4 separate regions of the Homo sapiens genome follow, and all the other regions are linked to region 3. The links are contacts of gene promoters, found by promoter capture Hi-C in blood cells and fetal thymus (Javierre and others, 2016). All regions are on one chromosome and are shown on one strand. Each heading gives the region's core, a stretch centred on a gene start or on the middle of the fragment in contact. The rest is flanking DNA. Distances are from core to core; before and after follow the strand shown.

Region 1 (3,263 bases), core at 715-3,214, 290 kb before region 3:
ATATCATGGTAGTATGTATCAAAAACCTTAAAAATATGTATAACTTCTTAAACCAGTTATCCACCTCAAGGGATTTGTCCTAAACAAATAATTCTATGAATGCAGAAAGATGTACTAGGATTTTTAATCAATATTATTTTAAGGTAAAATTAGATATAGCAAAGATGCCCAGTATCAGTAAGTGGGCTTAAAAATTTGAGGTTAATCTATGCAATAGAAAATAATGGATTTTCAAGTCAGACTCCCTCTGTTCAAATTCCAGATCTAGTATGCTGCTAAAAATAGGGATACAGAGGTAGAATTACTTATTCCCTTAAGGAGCTCCCTGACCAACTAGTAGGGTTCACAGATAACTATGATATAAGACTATGTGATAAAATCCATGGGAAAACTACACCAAAGCCCTGTCGGAGTTCAGAGATGAAAAGATCAGAGAAGGCAGCTTCCTCAAGCTGCCTTTGAAGTATCCAGTAGGGTTGAGACATGCAGAAGTATAAGAAAAAGTCAGTTTCGGCCTAGGGAACACCCTGAGTAAAGACACATAGTTAGAAAGCCTAGGATGTGTATGGAAAACAGTTTATAGCCTCATTTGACACTACTTTTCAAGTAGTTTTTGACAAATATTTGAATTACTTGAGGAAAAGTAGTGTCAAATGAGGGTATAAACATCATTGACCAGATCCTAGAAAGTCTGAAATATCAATCTAAAATAAAACTTCATTTTATTTAGCTGATGGTGGGACGCCATTGAAAAAATATTTCAGTCTTTGATCTCCTGAGAAAAGGATTTATTTATTGATGTAGCTAAAGGATGTTGTTATCAGATAGTTTTATTTATAAAGTAGTTTTAAGGTGAAAAGCTAAGGACATGCTAAGCAGACAGTTTCTCAAACAGAAAGGATTGCATATAATGCCAATTTGTTAGCTAATAATATATTTCTATTTTTAGGTATCCAGAATGCTACCAGGGGGACTTTTAGTTCTTGGAGTATTTATTATTACTACTTTAGAACTGGCAAATGATTTTCAAAATGCCCTGCGTAGAGTAAGTTTGATATATCGAAAATTCTTAATGAAATCAGTTATATGTTATTTTTACTGATTATGAGTATGTGTAATGATTCTAGGCATATTTACATTTGTTTTCCATAATTCTTTTTGTTGGGGTTACATTGAAAAAGCTTTTGTCACTCAATTGCTTGGATATCTTGAGTGTAAAAAATGTTTATATTTTTAAAAACTACACATTTTATTTATTATTTTTTCCATGGGTAATTTTATTCTTTATTTAGTACACTACCCAAAACAGGGCTATCATCAGCCCATATGGCATTTCATACAAATTTGAAAAAGCTATTCTTTCCTCAAGTTAAAAAGTTAAATTATTTACTTCTCAATAATAACCATGACTAATGACAGTAATTCCATGTAAATTATGCAAACAAATAATTCATTGTAAAATATTGAAAAATTCAAATGATTAATTATAATATTAAGAACTCAAAGTCACTTGGATCTAATAATTTGTTGTAAAAAAGGCATCTTTGTGGAAGTAATTCTTTTTGACAGAAAAACTACATATTTTAAAATAATCTTTATTTTAGAGGTAATTTCTGACTATTAGGAAACAAATTATAATGCTTTAAACAGTTTTTCTTATGCAATAGCAGTATTCTGTCACACCTTCCATTTAGTACCTAGTGATTACTGTAACATGAAATTAATAGGTGCTGAAATTCTTTACCTTCTTCTCAATTCTCCGGAGATCCTGAGAGTAAAACATAAACAATCAGATTATTCCTGGACACAGTATCTATCAGAAATCTCCTGTGTTTTTTGCTTAATTGCTGCACCAGAGAATTGGGTAACATAGTGTAAAAGTAAATATGAAGGTCCACATGCTGTTTTCCCTTAAACCCAAACCTAAGGTAGATTCTGTGTAGCCAGCTCTTTTAGCATTCAGGATCCACATGAACTTTTTGAAGGGTATTTCATACCCCAAAAGAGGGGGAACCTTAAAATCTTGAGACATATAAAACCCAACCCCAACAGTATCCCAGAAAAACATTTTTTAGGTAAAAAATATACAGCTGAGAACTTCAGATGTTACAGATTTTTTCAGTCTTGTAACCTGTCCTGTCAGATGTCCCAGCCTCAAGCCTTTGATATTTGCACCTAAGGGAGTAAGGGAAGAAAATGGAGATATTCTCCTCCCTGCTAAATTGTTTAACCCTCTGCCAACTTTTCCATCTTAAATAAATTTACCTTGTTTACAATTGTTCATTCTCTTTGGCATTTTGAAATTTAACCGAAATCTATGCGTATTTAATATTAATAGCATTCATTGTGCAACCTTTTTTGGCTGGTGCTGAATTGAGGGGGTTGAATGTGGGCCCAGTGCTAGAGAGATACAGCCAGGCCCACTTTCCTTGCTTTTGTATCTTTTGTTCCTAAAAAGTATATAAAACTTTAGAAATGCTTTATCTCTGACATTACTGAGTTTCAATTATCTAATTGTTTCCACTGGCTACACTGACAAACACTACAAGAAACAGCCTTATAAAACTTGTCAGTGTCACCCATTATTGTTAAGGACTTTATTCATCATATTACATTAATATTGTGTTTCCGGAAGAATTTCTTTTTATATTATGAAGAAGGTTGTGCCTCCTCTGATGATTGTTTTTAGCTTACAGACCATGTGAATTAGGTTACAGATTAGATTTCTCTCTGCACATTATTGTTAGAAAGCTTAGACCGAAATGTATTACCACCCCTTACATCAAGTATGCATTTTTATAATTCTTATTTCTGACACAAATTTATCTCACTATTCTACTTTAACTTTCAATTTGTTATTACTATATTTTATATGTTGTTATATATTGCCTTAAGTCTTGTGTGACGTTTAAATAAGAAATGCTAAATGGGTGACATGCTTGATTTCTTTAGTTAAAATCACTTATCATTTCTCATTCTAATTAAAGTCTCTGTTCTATAGTTTATATAAATTCTAGTTGCCCCAAATTAATTTTTTGTGTCCAGTTAATCTCTAATGATAGTGAATTAAATTTTTTTATTTAAACCCAATTTTTCTGTAATTTCCTAAAAGGAATTCAAAAATGTTAGTAATTAGCTCCAGTCTTTAATTTGAAGAAAAGAAAAATTAATGGTGGCACACACCTGTAGTCCCAGTTACTTGGGAAGCTGAGGTGAGAGAATCACTTGAGCCCAGGTGTTCAAGGCCAGCTTGAGCAACATAG
Region 2 (3,343 bases), core at 1-2,500, 260 kb before region 3:
AAAATAAAGGATCAATTTACTAGGTCTATATAATAATTTTCAGTGTGCATTCACCATATGAAATGGCCCCAAAATGTATGAACTGAAGCAACAATAGGGCTGAAGCAACAAAATGAGCAATAATGGGAGATTTCAACAACTAATTAATGATAAAGAATTAGTGAAAGCATTTTAATGTAATTAATACTGATTCAATAAACATTTAGAATAATGTATTAAACAATTAAAGAATATTTTTCTTAAGCATTGTATATTAGCAAAACTGGACCCTGTATTTTAAGCATGAGGCAAGTCACAAAACATCAAATAATTGGTATTAAATGGATAATCAGAAGCAAGTAGAGGTCAGTAATAAAGGTTAATTTTTTTTAAATATTACATTTACATGTTTAGATCTTCACAGAGGAGAAAAAGAAATACTTAAAGCCTAGTTACAAGTAATATATATTTTTAAATTGGGTATTGTAGCTGAAACAGCACTTTGAGGGAAATGGCTTTAAATGCTTAAGGGAAAAGACTAAATGTGCAACTTAGAAAAACAATAGCGAAAGCAATGTAGAAGCAAGGAAATACAGGAAAGGGAATAAATCAATGAATTAGAAACTGATAAAGAATTATATGTTAAAGTTGTTATCATGACAAACAGTAAAACGCATAATTGAACAAGATGAAACGGGACACAAAGATTGAAAAAGGGGTCCAAATCCATTGATAAAGCAGGGATGAAAAGGTGACTACCAGGAACATCTTAATGCTAATGTATTTGAAAACTTAGACAAAATAGACCAAACTCTAGAAAACTGCAATTTACTTAAATTGGCTCAGGAAGAAATAGAAAAGCTGAATATACTTATTCATAGGTTGAATAGTAAACAATAATTAACTTTTTGACAAGACCTGGCACAGGTCTTTCAAGGGGGGTAAAATTCTAACATTTTATACAAGCTCTTTCAAAAATAGCTAATGAGGGAATACTTGCCAGCATATTGTGTGAGGTTGATATAACTTACTGATATTAAATCAGAGACATTCAGTAGGAGAAAAGAAAATTACAGGCTGATAGCACTTACTAACACTTGTAAAGTCAAAAGCACTATTAATAAACTTTGACAAAACAGTGCATCATGACTAAGTTGTATACTTTAAAAATCAGGAACACAAGGGTGGCTATTATCACCACTACTTGTGCTTTTTTTTTTTTTTTTTTTTTTTTTTTTTAAGATGGAGTCTCGCTCTGTCACCCAGGTTGGAGTGCAGTTGCGTGATCTCGGCTCACTGCGGTCTCCATCTCCCAGGTTCAAGCAATTCTCTTGCCTCAACCTCCCGAGTAGCTGGGATTACAGGTGCCCACCACCACGCCCGGCTAATTTTTATATTTTTAGTACAGACAGGGTTTCACCAAGATGTCCAGGCTGGTCTTAAACTCCTGACCTGAGGTGATCTGCCTGCCTCGGCCTCCTAAAGTGCTGGGATTACAGGTGTGAGCCACTGCACCCGGCCACCACTTCTATTTATCATTGTCCTGTAGAAAAATAAGCAAATGACAAACCAGGTATTTTCAGAGGATATGACTGAACACATGAAAAGAAGTTTTACCTTGTAAGTGATTGGCTAATTAAAACCATAATTAATAACATTTTACATTCAATAGATTGAAAAATTAAGGAATACAACAATACCAATAAAGATGATGTGCCTCAGTCTTTCACACTGCAGATAGGATTTTGAACTGATAGACTCTGAGCTCAGAAAGCAATTTGGCACTATCTCTTAGAGTTAAGAATTCACGTACACTAACCATTCTACCTCTACATAAATGCCTTAGAGAAATTCTTGGATATGTGTACCTCAAGAGTACACATGTGAGAATGCTTGTGGCAGCCCTGTTTTTAATTACTCAAATGTCCGTTGACAACAAAAAACAAATTACGGGTTTTGTAATTTTATTCAGCAGGGAGAATGACCTACATACAACAACCCAGAGTAATCTTAAAAATGATAAAGCAAGTCTCAGAAGTCTACATACAGTATGCTACAGTTTTTATAAAGCTATAAAAGAAACCTAAACTGTATTATGTAGGAATATGTATATTTGTGATAAAACTTTTTCTTTTAAAGGAGTCATAAAACTCAGGATAGTGGCAAGGTGTAACACATGAATACATAAAACAATATTAGTGATACTTTCGTTCTTGAGTAATGGGTTTCTTGATCTTCATTTCATTTACTTAATGGCACTAACATAAATTTTGGGTGGGGTTGTCTGTTACTAACAAACTACCCTCAAACTTAATTAGCTTAAAATAACAACCATTTCACTTGCCTCAATGCTGTGAGTTGATAGGAATCAGCTGGGTGGTTTTGCGCCACATGATGGTGACTTTAGCTGCAGTTATCTAGGGGCTGGATTGGGCTTGAAACATCTGAGATACTCATGCACATGATTGGCAGTTAATGGTGGCTATCAGCTGGGAATTCAGCTGCCACATCTCAGTTTATGTGGCTTCTCCATGGGACTTGGAGTTCTTCCAGTCGTGGTGGCTGGGCTTGCTATCATTTATGGCTGGGATCCAAGAAGCAGCATCCCAAGTATAAGCATTTCAAGAAGAGGAAAGTAGAAGCTAAGTCCTTTTGGGGCCTTAGCTTGGAAATCCCAGAACATTATTTTCACCACATTGTATTGGTCAAAGTAATCTACAGGGTCAGCCTAGATTAAAGAAAAAAAAAAAAAACCCCTTTTTGATGGGAAGGGGTCATGCATACACGAGCAAGAAAGAAATTGATGGCAGAAATCTTTGGTAGTTACAATGTACCCCCTGGTCATAGTAATTTGTGTTCCTGATGGAAAATTATTTCACTACCTCCTAGGAAACCTTAAAGTCTCATCTCAATATGACATCAAGTTCAAGCTCAAGACCCAGAATCTCATGATCTAAACCAGTTTCAGTAACATATGAGGCACCTTTACTACAGTTTCCCTCAATCCGAAGATGTGTGAAACTAAAGACAAGTTTTCTTTCCCATATTCACCCAGCCTACGATGGTGAGTCAGGCAATATACACTCTTGTTTAAAAAAGAGGAAAAATGAGAGGTACATAGCAGTGAATGGTTCATAGCAATTCTGAACTCCAATTGGGCACGTCTAATTCCTTATGATTCTGGGAGCACAGAATGTATGTCAATTAGGGCCTAATTCTACCTGAGAGTGGTTCTCAACTCTTGGCTCTTCCCTGTAAGATCTTGACTTTGCTCTGAGTCATTCTTTTCCATGACTTTTCCATTAGAAAATCCATACTCATCTCTTCAAGACAGGCCTGTCTCTAATTTGAACTCAGAGGATGT
Region 3 (3,194 bases), core at 156-2,655:
TTGAGAAGGCTAAAAACCTTAGAAAGACACTTGTACTTACATGTCAACACATAACTCATAATTGCATTTCGAAGGAAGGGAATGTTATTCACAACGTTCCAAAATCCCTTGAAGTGGGTAAGTATGTAGTGCACTGTGTTTGGAGTGGGTTTCAGAAATAATTTTATTCTTGTCAAAAATTCCGCTGCAAGAAGACGAAGAAAGGGAGGGAGAAATTAATGGGACTCATTATAAGACACAAATCTATACAATGATAACTGTATCCAGCCCCACTCCTAATGAGGCAACCAAAGGACAAACTTACGTGTTGAGCAGTTTTCTCCATAGAATCCTGTCCGGGTACAATCGCACTTATACTGGTCAAATCCCACACTCATACATACACCTCGGTTTTGACATGGGTGGGAACAGCAAGGATTTGCTGCAATTAAAGGACAGCAAATAAATCATTCTCTAGTGTCTTAATCTTAATTTAAACATTTAATTGTTTGACTATGAATCAACTTTACAATAATAAATTCAAGAAATATATAGGTAGTCATGGAAATACAATTTTTTAACCTGCCTTAGAATGGATAAAACGTAGAAATACCAATTTTCTATTCTAAATAAGGATAACAGCATATTCAACTTGGTACATCATGTTACTAAGCTTTTCTTAGTTAACTCTTTAGATGTTAAAATTAGCATTTTTAAGAAGTTCAAATAAGTAGCACTTCACTTTCCAAATTAAAATGGATCTAGTACACTAATCAACATTTAGGGAAAAATTCAAAGTAAAACAGCTTACTTTTAAGACATTTTGCTTATCTTAAAACATAATCCGGGCTTTCCTGGGAGCAGGAAAGAACTGACTAGAATATTTAAAACAACTTCTTCCACTCAATAAAAAGGTTCCAAATATAAACAATTCACATATATTGATCAGATCCTGTCTTATCATAATGACAACCTGCAAATTAGTATCATCTATCCCTATTTAGGAGGTGAGAGTGTCTCAGATCGGTTAAGTAACTGGCTCATAATGATCAGTGCTTGTGGGAAAGCTGGAATATCCACGGAGTTCTTTCGAACTCTAGCGGTCCAAGCTCTTTCCCAAGTCACGTAGCTTCTCTATTCGGAGAGAAGTCGGAGTACTGGGATAGACCCAGGAGGTCAGAGCGGAAACTCTGCCCGGGTGCGTGGAACCGGAGTCCCCGGTGCGCGGCGCCAGGTACTCACCTGTATGGCTGAGCGCCAGGACCGCGCACAGCAGCAGGGCGCGGGCGAGCATCGCAGCGGCGGGCAGGGCGCGGCGCGGGGGTAGGCTTTGCTGTCTGAGGGCGTCTGGCTGTGGAGCTGAAGGAGGCGCTGCTGAGGAGTTCCTGGACGTGCTCCTGACGCTCACTGCAAGTCGTATGACAATTGGTCGCTAACCGAGAGAACCTTCCTTTTTATAAGACTGAAAACCAAGCCCATGTGACGAAATGACTGTTTCTTTCCGCCTTTTCGTACCCCCCACAAATTTTTCCCTCCTCTCCCCTTAAAAAAATTGCGTAAGCCCGGTGGGGGCAGGGTTTTTTACCCACGGAAATGAGAAAATCGGAAACCCAGGAAGCTGCCCCAATTTGGGAGCAGAGGGGGTAGTCCCCACTCTCCTGTCTGATCCCTCCCTCTCCTCCCCGAGTTCCACCGCCCCAGGCGCACAGGTTTCCGCCAGATGTCTTTTCTTCTTCGCAGTCTTTGCCCGAGCGCTTCCGAGAGCCAGTTCTGGACTGATCGCCTTGGATGGGATACCGGGGGAGGGCAGAAGGACACTTGGCTTCCTCTCCAGGAATCTGAGCGGCCCTGAGGTCCGGGGGCGCAGGGAATCCCCTCTCCCGCCGCCGCCGCCGTGTCTGGTCTGTACGTCTTTAGAGGGTCGAGGAAGTCACGTCGGGACAGACTGGGGCGAGTAAGGTTAAGAAAGGCTGACATGTTTTATGTTTTAGTGACGACGCTTAATAGGCTGTATATCTGCTCTATATGCAGCACATACATACATAGCTTTTTAAAAAACTCTTATTTTGTGGAATGAAATAGCTACCTTCAGTGTACATAGCTGTAATTTATCTTTGTAGCTAAGTTGCTTTCAACAGAAGAAATACTGTTCTCCGTACCTTCACCCCCTCCTTGTTTCTTGGAAAGAGAGGCGGGAAAGGTAAATTCTCCTCATAATACTGGTCCTAAGCAGTTACCCTGTAAATAGTTAATGTGAGCTCCACGGGTCACCAATATAAAGTTTCCTGCCTTCTGATGGACAAAGGAAGCGGCGATGGCCAGAATTTGCAGGGACGCTAAATGTCCAAAACGTATGCCTTAAGGCATTTCTCTCCCTGATGCGTGGATTATTTTGGTTACTAGCCCTTCATAGGAGATACTGGTAAAATAAATTCGAGTTTTAAAGTTCACTCTTTTGTCTTTTCTGTCCACTTTTCCAAGATTATGAGTTGTGACCATGGATCAAAGTACAACATAGCATTTACTTTTCAGTTGCCTGGGCTTATTGGGGCTAATTTTCTATTCTCGTTTTGGAACATAGTTGGATGAGGAATTAATTAGATGGAAGGGAGATTTTGACAGTTGGAATTTCATCTTTGCTTTTGTTTAACATCTATCATGGGTAGTGCTCAGGGAGGAGCATGTGAGGGTGAGATACTAAAAAATATATATATGTATATGTGTGTGTGTATATATACATATATATATACACACACACCAGAAAAGAAGTGGAAAATAGAAAATTCAGTTATGTCCTAAGTCCTTAGCATTACAGGAAAATGACAGCATAAAACCTGAAATAAAACTACACCAGGTACCTCAATTTGTAGAAGTCTTATAAGAAAAAAATAAATAAGAGACTCACTTGGAGGTTTTTTTTTTAACTGTTTTGCTTAGTGTACACATCTGATTCTTCATGAGACACGGATGACTAAAATTCCATCTCATCTAGGAAGCCTTTCTCCTCCTCTAGTCATATTTCATCATTCCATTTATGGCACTCCTATTTATTGCATGGAATCTTACATGAAATTTCAACTAAGAGCGTGGATCATTTTCTTTTTGATAATTTAATAATTTCAATCTTCTGTTTCATTTTAAAGGAGTAGGTTGCATCTACTGAAATTTGAAGTTTATAGTTAGAGCTACTAATGTTAGTTTGGGTTAGAAGCCAT
Region 4 (3,011 bases), core at 288-2,787, 260 kb after region 3:
ACATTTGCTATTTTATTCCATGTTTCCTACAACCGGGGAGTAGGTATTTTTAGCTCTGTTCAACAGAAGAAAAACGAAAACCTCATAAAGATTAAATAATTTGCACATTGCTGCTTAGAACGTAATTAGCAGTGCTGAAATTGGTTTCAAAAATCCTTTGTTCTTTTTATTTTACCATACTAACTTCTGATGTGTACATAGTGATTACCGTCTATATAGATTGCAGCAGTCTGCCGGGCGCTAAGGATGAATTCCTCTTTCCTCACCACAATATATTGTCCCTACCCTATAAGACCTTATAGTCTGTTTGGAAAATTTACAATAATTATTAAAGAAGTTAAGGCACAAGAGAGTACAGAACTGTTACTATACACTGTCATTTTGACCAAGTTATATAATCTACGTTAGACCCAGTTTTCTCATCTGTTAAGTGAAGATGAGACTTCTCACAATGTTTTGCCAAAAAATGAGACAAAGTATGTAAACAATGGCAGGCCCTAATAATAAGTTTCCAGTACATTTTAACAATTTAGAATGTTCTGTGAAAGCTGTATAAGAAAAGTCAGAGGTCTAGATCTTAAAGATTAATAGGATTTGAATATGAAAGGCACATTTAATTATTGGATTGTGGAAGGGGGCATGTAGCAGGGTCAGGGATAACTCAGGTGTGCTCAATGGCAACAAGGAACCACACATCTTGGGCTATAATGGGGTTCATAGTAGAGAGTTGAGACTTTATTACATAGAAAAGTAAGCGCCATAATGAAATTGCTTCCCCCCAGCCATAGCTATTATCTTGTGGAGCTTTGAAATTTTTGGAATTGTTTGATCTATAACACTTGCATGCTAGTCAGATTTTTGCATGGCCAAATAAATCATCCTTCACCCAGAAAGAATTACATGGTCAAAAGAACACTACATTCTAATTTAAAAGCCTTGTCTTACAATACTTCTAAGCTGAATACCTCAGGCTAGTCATGTAATCTCTGATTCTTATTTTCCTCCTTATTTTAAAAAATATATTAACCCTAAGATTTATCTTCCAGAGCTATTAAGGCAATAATATGAAATATGCATAAGATGAGACTGAAAACTATAAAGAGGCATACAAATATAAAAGTTTGTTTTTATTGTCATGATTGTTCTGGACTTTTCACGGTGGTTATATTTTATTCTGAATTTTTAGTCAATAGCCATTTTCCAAGAAAACTTAACTAAAATAATTAAAGAATAAATAATATTTGGGTGAGTGGATATTCTGGGTTCTTTTAGACTGAAAAAATGCTGTTTTATATTCAGTTAGTAGTCTTTGGACCTGGATGTGTCTTCTTTTGACATCTGCTTCACTGCAGTACTGCTACTGAGATGAGTGGTGCATCATTAACCTTCATTGTTAAGCTTCTGTCATAAGGCGGGTTGAGCTGTGTCTTCCAACAGATTTAGACAAAATCATTAAACATTAATTATATGAATCTTGTACCCAGATAAGACATCTTAAGGTACATGTCTTGAGTGTTCAAGTAGCTTTACTTGAGTTACTGGGAAAAAAAGAATAGAGACACGTCTGTAATTTATTCTTCCAATATATGCTTAGATTGAAAGTGGCTGTGTAGAAGAAAAAGTTGAGATAGTCTCTGAATTATATTTTTAAAAGTCAAATAATCAAATTAGCTTACAGAAGCTTTATTAACAATTTTACTTCAACAATACCGGATAATATTTTCCCTTCCTCTTGGAATAATTTTAAACACACCTTTCATTTAGAAATTTCTTGGAAATTTTCAACAAATAAACATTGGTGTTTAAACTGTTAGAAATTCCTGACTCCTCCACTACATCACATTGCTGAAAGGACTTAAAACGTTCATTTAAAAATTTCCACTGGTGAATAAACTGCATTTATGGATTACAACTTATGGTTATGAACTTAGCATCATGCTAAATTTTTTGACAGACACTTTAGAAGTACAAATATAGTATTTTTCCTCAAGAAAGTTATAATCCTATTGAAAGAGACAAAAATAAAGCATGGAAAAATTCCTATAATATACCTAGACCTGACATAAGTGTGTAGACCTGACATAAGGGTGAGATGTCATAGAGATTTAGTATAGTTGTAAGAAAGGGTGATGAAACTTGGATTTAAGTCGAATGTAGAAGGATCTATCAAGTACGGGTAAAAAGATACCTTTGTGTGGAAACAATATGAGAAAATGCTCAGAAGGGAAGCCAGAGTTATGTTTTGGGCATCACTATTAAAAAAAACAACTAGTCTAGGACTTATGCACACATTGGTGAAGAAAAGGTGTTGTATTTGGAGGCACCAATAGTCCCAAGTTATGGAATGATTTTAATTCCAGACAGAAATATTTTTATTTGATTTTGATGATAATGGAAATAGTTAATGCTTTTGTGCAGGGCAATAAAATTATTTATGTAGTGTTTTTGAAAAAGTCACTTTGGTGACCAATAAAAACAGAATGGAAAGGAATGAAACTGGAAGCAGAGATATCACTGTGCTTTTGTGATAAGGCCCTGGAACTAGGGACATACTGATAAGAAAAGAATAGATGGATATGAGAGGCCTAAAGGTTATCGGTGTGATGCAATGATGGATTTGATAGAGTGATAGCATGGTTTACTGAAATAGGTAAGCTGGCCCGGGAAGAAGGGTGATGAGTTCTTATCTAGGTAAGTATAGTGGGAGGAGATGACAGAATATCTGAGTGTAAGGGCCCCAAAGGAAGTTGAAAGTACATGGAAGCGCAGGAGAGAGGTTGGAGTCAAAAGGTAGAGTCACCAGCAGGAGAGAATTAGTTGAAAACTAACACCGTGAGTTCTTCAGTGAGGGGTGCAGAGCTCATTTTAGCTTTTGAGAATGCCTAAGTTACTATGTGCCCAGGCCATGGCGCTAATCAAGAAGAGATCGCTAGAAAAGCAGGAACCAGGAAGTTGTTATGCCTCAGTTCCCATGATAGGGTTGTGAAATTGAGAGATAGGAAATTACTTGT

Evidence for each region. Contacts are between HindIII fragments. The CHiCAGO score rates a contact against its expected background, and 5 or more counts as called.
Region 1: a contact is called between a fragment that was not itself captured here and the fragment with the promoter of PTGS2 in region 3, in 1 of 17 cell types (megakaryocytes). The highest score is 5.8, in megakaryocytes.
Region 2: a contact is called between a fragment that was not itself captured here and the fragment with the promoter of PTGS2 in region 3, in 1 of 17 cell types (neutrophils). The highest score is 5.5, in neutrophils.
Region 4: a fragment that was not itself captured here is called in contact with the fragment with the promoter of PTGS2 in region 3 in 1 of 17 cell types (M1 macrophages); the score reaches 5.2 in M1 macrophages.

What each region holds. Positions count from the first base shown.
Region 1 is chr1:186,385,039-186,388,301 of GRCh38, forward strand. It overlaps ODR4 (odr-4 GPCR localization factor homolog), which reads left to right. Exons shown (of 14, transcript NM_017847.6): 4 at 950-1,045. Among named protein-coding and RNA genes, the nearest start is that of ODR4, 11 kb to the left of the region's middle. The HindIII fragment of the contact is 1,570 bases long and covers 1,180-2,749 here.
Region 2 is chr1:186,422,255-186,425,597 of GRCh38, forward strand. It overlaps a transcript of ODR4 not described here. Among named protein-coding and RNA genes, the nearest start is that of PDC-AS1, 11 kb to the right of the region's middle. The HindIII fragment of the contact is 8,322 bases long and covers 1-3,343 here.
Region 3 is chr1:186,679,018-186,682,211 of GRCh38, forward strand. PTGS2 (prostaglandin-endoperoxide synthase 2) reads right to left here and starts at 1,406. Exons shown (of 10, transcript NM_000963.4): 1 at 1,222-1,406; 2 at 305-421; 3 at 41-184. The coding sequence starts at 1,273. It overlaps PACERR (PTGS2 antisense NFKB1 complex-mediated expression regulator RNA), which reads left to right and starts at 1,637. Exons shown (of 1, transcript NR_125801.1): 1 at 1,637-2,429. The HindIII fragment of the contact is 7,534 bases long and covers 651-3,194 here.
Region 4 is chr1:186,941,469-186,944,479 of GRCh38, forward strand. The region is part of intron 10 of PLA2G4A (phospholipase A2 group IVA); the gene reads left to right. Among named protein-coding and RNA genes, the nearest start is that of PLA2G4A, 110 kb to the left of the region's middle. The HindIII fragment of the contact is 283 bases long and covers 1,397-1,679 here.